Linked DNA regions of Homo sapiens: region 2 is linked to region 1. The links are contacts of gene promoters, found by promoter capture Hi-C in human tissues and cell types (Jung and others, 2019). All regions are on one chromosome and are shown on one strand. The core of a region is centred on a gene start or on the middle of the fragment in contact, and the rest is flanking DNA. Distances in the headings are between cores, read along the strand shown.

Region 1 (4,212 bases), core at 919-3,418:
CTTGAGTTTCTGCAGAAACATGTGCCATCTCAAATAAGTAATTCTTTAGCGACTTTTCCAGCCTGCATGTGTTTCAAGACTGCAGCTTCAAATGCTGCTTCAGTAGTCTACTCAGGTAAAGTAATTGAGATCACCACAGTGGTTTCCAACCTGAGTAGCAATGGCATCACAAGAGGACTTTGGTCACCTAGCAACAAACATAAAAATTTGGCCAAGACTGTTTACTTTCCAGTCTCAGAAATGTATCTGGTAAAAATAAAATATAGAATGATTACTTACACAGTTTATTCTGCAAAAGTTTCATGCCTGCAGAATCTTTTAAATTAATAAGGAGGGCCAGGCATGGTGGCTCATGCCTGCAATCCCAGCGCTTTGGGAGGCCGGGACAGGCGGATCATGAGGTCATGAGTTCGAGACCAGCCTGACCACCATGGTGACACCCTGTCTCTACTAAAAATACAAAAATTAGCCAGGTGTGGTCCATGTGCCTGTAGTCCCAGGTCTCGGGAGGCTGAGGCAGAAGAATCGTTTGAACCCAGGAGGCGGAAGCTGCAGTGAGCTGAGATTGTGCCACTGCACTCCAGCCTGGGCAACAGAGCAAGACTCTGTCTTAAGAAAATAATAAATAAATAAATAAATAAATAAATAAATAAATTAATTAATATCCTCAATCCCTGAAATAAACATAATTTTCTCCTTGACACACACAGTCTTACTAGATTGGTGCGAGGAGCATAGGGCCTGGTAATTGGACGGTGCAAAAAAATAAAAATAAATATTTTAAAAACTCTCTCAGCTTGGCATGTTGGATTGAAAACTGATGCAGTGTAAAACATATATGGTAAAAAGACATGGCCATATAGACAAAAGGTAGGTTAATGGTTGTCAGGGGCTGGGGAATAGAAAGAACTGTTAAGTAGATAATGGGGTTTCCTGTTTGATGATAGAAATGTTTTAATAATATAATTTTGAATAATGTAATTTTGTATTATGTGAAACATACCTTAAAAAATTAAAATAAAATCAAATATGAATAAAACTGATTAGATTTCAGAATAAAAAGTTATTCATGTATGTATCTATTCAAAACATTTTTTATTCATATCATAGAATAAATAATACTTTCATTTGGTATGTCTGTAAATATCTGACATGTTAATTATGTAAGATTTTAAAAGCAAGTGACCTACTTATAAGGAGATCCCAAAGAGTGGGAGATTTAAAAATGTAATAATAACAAGAAAGTGTTTTAAGTAAAGTAAATTTGTATGTATGTCTAAGCAGAAAATTTTATTATTTGGTTCCAAGAGCCAAATATCTATTTAAAAAATATTTCTTAAGGAATAATCTCTGTGTCCTGCAACGTAAAGTTATCATTATAAAACAGGAGTCAAATTTGTGAATTAATCTTAGAATTGAATAAAATATTTCTTCTCTTTGAAAAATAATCATGCCCCATTTACAGTAAGAATTTTTATATGTTCATGCTTGAGAGGTGGTATATTAAAATTCTAATGCCTTGGCTTTAAGTGTTGAATATGTGTGGAATAAAAAAATAATGATTTTGATATTTCTTATACTGTAGGAGGCAGTTCTCTCATACTGGAAAGAGGTGTCATTGTTAGAAGCTTGTCTTGGTTTAACATAGTTTAAGTTTTGGGGGTGTATTTTGTTTAGTTCAAAATTTTCCATATTAGCAGTAAGTAACAAAAATGTCCAGATCAGAAAACTCTTTGTGAAAATAAAACAGGTGCTCCTACCAGATGTGGTTCATCAATTTTGACAGAATTTTCATTTAAAAAAGGCAAAATTAAAATTTGTTTAATTGTTTGCTTTCTGGGGAATTTTCTTGTTGCTCTGTCTGAAGGAAGTACAGACTTCTTTTGTGATGGGAGGGGATGAATGGCTACTAGACAGCAGCAAAAGATGGGCCATGGGTGCGAAGAGAAGAGGGAGTTAATGGGAGAATCAGAAAAATATCACCTTAAATGTAGGACAATCGAAGTCAAATTGTGGCTGAGCGTTTTGGGGAACTAAGATGTGTGACTCTGTAGGGAGGAAGAATGCCTTGGTGTTTTCAAGGGAAGATGACTCAGCTAGTGCAGTCACCTGACTCCAAACTGCAAGCCTACTTTAGTCATAAAAAGGCAAGAAAATAAGCAATTTTACCTGCAAAGCAAAGGACGTAGTGTTGAAAACGAGACCAGAAATGGTGCTGTTAAAGAGGTGAACAAAAGCATTTACTTTTTGAACGAGTTTCAAAACTGTGAGGGTGGCAAATAGGCAAGGTAAGTAGGAGCAGCCCTCGACCATCTCAGATCAGCTTCTTCAGCCTACCTTGACCTCTGCCTGTCTCAGCTGGGGATCTTAACATAAATCTCTGGATATCAGGGGTGGCTTTTCCCGAGTCTTGAGCCTAGAAACTCCCTCTCTTGATTCTGATTTTCAGAGAAGAGAAGCAGCTGCTTAGCATTTGGGTGGGACAGTGGTTGTTACTAATATATTACAAATTTCAGCATGTTTTTAAACATCAGAAGGAGAAAGTGCTTCGTATTTAAGTGAAATCTCAAAGGGGCAGAAATCTACCATATTTTTTGTTATTCAGATGCAGTGATGCACTGGCTATGTGAGTACAAGAAACAAGTTCACTTAATCACAAACACATGCCTAAATTCCATTGTTCAGTGACTTCACTTTCACTTTCTACCTTGAATTTTAGACTCTGGAAGACCCATTTCTAAACTCTGTGGCCCTTTTCATATGTGCATATTTTCATAAGTGTTTTCCAGAAATAAATTATAGAGGTCCTTCTGTGAGTCCAAAGGAGAAGGAAGTGGTTGGGGCAGCCAGAAAGGTGCAATCTGCATTAATATCATATTCGATGTATGGATTGCTGGGGAGAGAGTGGGATATATTTCTTATAATGTTGGATGTATTTTTCCCCTATCCTGAGGCCCAGAAACTCTGATGTCTCTGCAGTTGTCTTTCCATGCTTTCCTTTATACCCCTCGCCTACTTCTGTAATTTCTCTCTCTACTCTCCCTCCTCCTTCCCACCCTTTTTCTTTCCATTTGTGCTCTCTCCCTCCATTCCTTCTTTTTCCCTTTTCTTTCTTTTTGTGGGTATCTGGTAGCTGCAACTTATTTTCTTTCTGCTTTTCTTACTCACTTACTCTATTTACTAGGTATTTAACAATTGTCTTTAAAAGTAACATCCTTTCTTTCTTAAAATTTTATCCCTAATGGACATTATTTGGGGAAAAACATTTTTATGGTGCCTCTAGATAAGTAATTATATCATCTGCACATGATTCCCGTATTTTCTTACATGCCCGTTCCTCGTAGGTGGAAATGGGTACTTCATTGTACTCTTCTCTCTTTATTTACAAGAGTGTTTTTTCTGTCTCATCCCTTTAAATAACACATTGTCTCTCTTTTTGTGACATTGAATTAATTAGGTCAGATGCGATTTTTCTCATCTATTCATTTGAAGACTGTTTCATATTGCTTCTAGGGCCTATTTGCAAGCAACAAATTATTTTGTTGTTGTTGTTGTTTTGTTTTGTTTTTTAATTTTTGGACCATTTGTCTCATCACTCCAACAAGCAAGAATTAGTTCTCATCATTAAGATCCCTTCAAGATTTCATTCACTTGTTTCAGCAGCCTTGAATTATCATCACCTGGACCTGTTGTTACATCAAGAATCTCTCATTTCTAATGTTCTACTTTGGACACTGTTACCTGTGAGTTTGTTTACATTAAAAAAAAAAAACCTTTTAGTACTTGAGTACCCTAAAGTTTCATATTTTGAATTGGTGTCAGATTTATTATTATTGATCTCTCCATTGCTGGAGAAAACTAAGCAATAGGTAAACTCTATTCTTTTGGTAATTTGTATTTTCTGAATGTTTCACAGTAAATGTTTACTAGTCTTGTGATGCTGCAAATTGGCAATCAGATATATTTTAAAGTGACAAGGTTGCCCTGTTCATCACCAGTTCTGTACATCACGCAGATCAAAAGTAAGGTGTTTAAGTTTATTTTAAATGTTTTTCCCAAAAATTCTGCTTCCACCACTTTTCCAAGCTCTACCAGATGGATACTCAAGAATTGACCAAGGCAATCTCTTCTCTCATATTTCACTGTCAAATACTCTTAATCAGTGAGTCCTGTCAATTCTGTGTTTCTAAGAAATGATGATGGTGGTCATGA
Region 2 (3,955 bases), core at 696-3,195, 56 kb before region 1:
TCCCAGCTACTCGGGAGACTGAGGCAGGAGAATGGCGCGAACCGGGAGGCGCAGCTTGCAGTGAGCCGAGATCGCGCCACTGCACTCTAGCCTGGGTGACAGAAAGAGACTCCTTCTCAAAAAAATAAAAATAAAATAAAAATAGAAAATAGAAAAAGCTGTGTGTCCTTTGTTTCTTCATATTTTGCAGATTTTTGATGTCAAAATATTTTCATAGTCAAAAGAGTGTTAATAAAGAATGACTTCTCTGTTATAAAAACCCTAATAGTGAATGTATTTACCAAGAAGTTAGATTCTATCTTTGGTTTTTTGTTTTTTGCCCCGTAGTTTAAAAAAAAAGTTTTATTGTATGGATATTCTACAGTTAGTGTATCTATTGATGGACCTCTTGATGGACATTTGGTTTGCTTCCAGTTGTTTTTGCTATTTCAAATAAAGTTGCTACGAATGTTTGTCCAATCGTTTGGACATAAGCTTTCATTTGTCTTGGGCAAATAAGCAGGATTTGAATGACTAGGTGGTGTGATATGTTTCACTTTTTTTTTTTTTTTGAGACGGAGTCTAGCTCTGTCGCCCAGGCTGGAGTGCAGTGGCGCGATCTCGGCTCCCTGCAAGCTCCGCCTCCCGGGTTCACACCATTCTCCTGCCTCAGCCTCCGGAGCAGCTGGGACTACAGGCGCTCGCCACCACGCCCGGCTAATTTTTTGTATTTTTAGTAGAGACGGGGTTTCACCGTGTTAGCTAGGATGGTCTCGATCTCCCGACCTCGTGATCCACCCGCCTTGGCCTCCCAAAGTGCTGGGATTACAGGCGTGAGCCACCGCGCCCGGCCAGTTTAACTTTTAAAGAAACTGACAAAGTGGCTGTATTTCCAGCAGCAGTGTATGAGCATTCCTGTTCCTTTGTGTTCTCACCAGTGTTTAGTATGGTCAGTCTTTTAAATTTTAGCTATTCTAATAGGCATGTAGCAGTATCTCATTGTGGTTTTAATTTACATTTCCCTAATGAAGAATGATGTTGAACATCTTTCAATGTGCTTACGTATCATCCATCTGTATTCTATGGTGAAATGTCTGTTCAGATCTCTACATTTGTGTTAGACTATTTGTTTTCCTATTATTGAGTCCTGAGAGTTCTTTGTATGTTTTGGATGACAAATGTATCTTCACCAGATATAGTTTTGTAAATTTTTACTCCCAGTCTGTGATTTGTCTTTTTATTCTCTCGATAGTGTTTTTCTTTTTCTTTCTTTCTTTTTTTTTTTTTTTTTTTTTGACAGAGTCTGGCTCTGTCACCCAGGCTGGATTGCAGTGGCAAGATCTCGGCTCACTGCAATCTCCGCCTCCCGGGTTCACGCCATTCTCCTGCCTCAGCCTCTCCCAGTGGCTGGGACTACAGGCGCCCGCCACTACTCCCGGCTAATTTTTGGTATTTTTGGTAGAGAGGGGTTTCATCGTGGCCTAGATCGCCTGACCTCGTGATCCACCCGCCTCGGCCTCCCAAAGTGCTGGGATTACAAGCGTTAGCCACCGTGCCTGGCCTCTGGATAGTGTTTTTCACAGGTCAGATTAATTTGTATATAAATCATTTATTTTATTTTTATTATGTAAAATTTTATAATTTTTAATTTTATTTTTAATTTCCTTTTTAAAAGGTAAATAAAATATTAAGTGTAATGATGCAAAATTGTGTTTAAAAGTAAATGTATATGAAAGTGTTGATATAGACTAAAACATTGAATAAGTAAGAAGGTAGTTAGTTGTCACAGTAGGAGTGAAGTGCAAAGCTTCCCCTTTCACCCTCTGAAGATTACCCGAAATGAACTGACCAGACACAGATTCATAAAAGAAAGGGTATACAAACTTACTTCACCTGCAAAACCATGAGAGCTATACACAAAGTATAAGACTTGAAGATGGCTCAGATCTTAAACGCTCTCCTCATAGGCGATAGATATATAGACCCAGGATGCAGACAGTATTTTGTAAATAATTTCCTTTGGAAGCTGGATGGGACAGACAAATTACGGGAAGGCGAGAGATGGACCTGCACAGGAAAAAAGTTTGTCTTTGTCACTTTAATCTTATCATTACTAGAGAATATTTATGAATATTTTAGAATAATATATTTTTAAGCCCAAACCTCACCAAATGTTTTTTCTAAAACAAATACTTTTTGTTGTTGTTTGTTTGTTTTTGATACTGTGTCTCACTCTGTCACCCAGGTATGGAGTGCAGTGGTGCAACCATGGCTCACTGCAGCCTTGACCTCCTGGGCTCAAGTGATTCTCCTACCTCAGCCTCCAAGTAGCTGGGCTACAAGCATGCACCATCATGCCCTGGTAATTAAAGAAAAAAAAATTTTTGTTAGAGACCAAGTCTCATTATGTCACCCTGGCTAGTCTTGAACTCCTGGAATGAACTGATCCTCATGCCTTGGCTTCCCAAATTATTGGGATTATAGGTGTGAGCCACAGTGCCTGACCACATATTTCTATACTTCACTGAGGAAAGGAAGGTGCTAGGAAAATTGGTTAAGAACTATTTTTTAAAAAGCTATTAGTAGTGTTTTATTTTATTTTATTTTTTAATGATTGAGTTTTGAGATTGGGATCTCACTATGTTGCCCAGGCTGGTTTCACATTCCCAAGTTTAAGCAATATCCCTGCCTCAGTCTCCCAAGTAGCTGGGATGACAGATGTGTGTCACCATACCCAGCTCCATTAGTAGCATTTTTAACAATTGTGGGCCACTGAGAAAGAATAATTTTTTTTAAATTAAAGGTTATTTTTTAAAAAGCACATTTGTAGAAAATTACTAGCATAATCTGCCTAAAATAAATATACATATTGAAAAAATGTTTCCTCTGAACAAAAAGAAATATATTCACCACACATACACACATACACACACACGCACACATGCACACACGCACACACACACACATTGTGGAAGATTTCAAGACCAGGCAATAATTTCCACTCAATCCAAAAACAATGCAATCCCAGAGCTGAATATTTAGGTGAAAAATATATCAGGAATGGGAGGCATTCAGGTTTAATTTTCATGTTTTGTTAGAGTTAGGATGTGAGTTTTCATTTAAAAATATTCTTTATTTTTTTTGCTACTATTGTGGTTTCTATATTGTTACTATACAATCTGTAAACTAAATAGTAAAGGAGAGAAAAGTGATTTTCAAAGAAGCTGGCTTGGGAACAGGTACTATTCTGGGAAGATGAAAGGTTTCACTTAATGACTGGTACCTGTGCCACTCTGGTTATTTTAACTGTTAACCTTTTAGCAAGAGGTTTTTCTTTTAAAAGACATCCTTTAATATTTGGGAAGCTAGTGCAATAGTACACATTGAGGCCCACATACCACATGCCAAATATTTAAAAGGCATATTTCTAGCTAACCACTGTACATGCATATATTTTTTCTCTCTTATTTTCTTATTTTAGTTTTTTTCCTTGTCAACAATTTAATTTTAAGTCCACACATATCTTCTATCATCCCACTTTGACAAATAATATTATACCTTCAAAATGATGTGGAAGACTAGAATGGAATTTAGAACCGTAGAACCTTGTAATTGTACAGGCAAGTTTCTTCCTGGGAAAAAATAAAACAGGAAGAAAAGGCTGGGCAGCCTCTGGTTCAGGAAGGAAATTCGGGAGTCCCTTATAGCAGCATCTCTAGTACTTGGGAACCGAACAGACTTCTCGGCCTGTGAGGCTGGAATGGGCCCTTCTGGAGAACACGACAGAGAAGTTATCTACTGCCTTTGCCCCCAGGGCCCAGGCAACACTTTTACCCTCCATTGCTTGTTTCCGAAGTTAAGGGGAGGAGACAATGTTTTGTTTAGTGACCTCGACAGAAAGGGTGTCCTCCTGCAACCACTCATTTGTTACTTTCCTTCTTCCTGAATTGCCTGGACCCACTCCTCCTCCATTTGA

What was found. Contacts are between HindIII fragments. The study calls those that stand out against the background at their distance.
Region 2: a fragment that was not itself captured here is called in contact with the fragment with the promoter of XKR3 in region 1 in 2 of the 25 tissues and cell types used here (dorsolateral prefrontal cortex and mesendoderm cells).

What each region holds. Positions count from the first base shown.
Region 1 is chr22:16,823,367-16,827,578 of GRCh38, reverse strand. XKR3 (XK related 3) reads left to right here and starts at 2,168. Exons shown (of 4, transcript NM_001386955.1): 1 at 2,168-2,288. It also overlaps the pseudogene HSFY1P1. The HindIII fragment of the contact is 14,808 bases long and covers 1-4,212 here.
Region 2 is chr22:16,879,325-16,883,279 of GRCh38, reverse strand. No RefSeq gene overlaps it. Among named protein-coding and RNA genes, the nearest start is that of XKR3, 56 kb to the right of the region's middle. The HindIII fragment of the contact is 4,101 bases long and covers 1-3,955 here.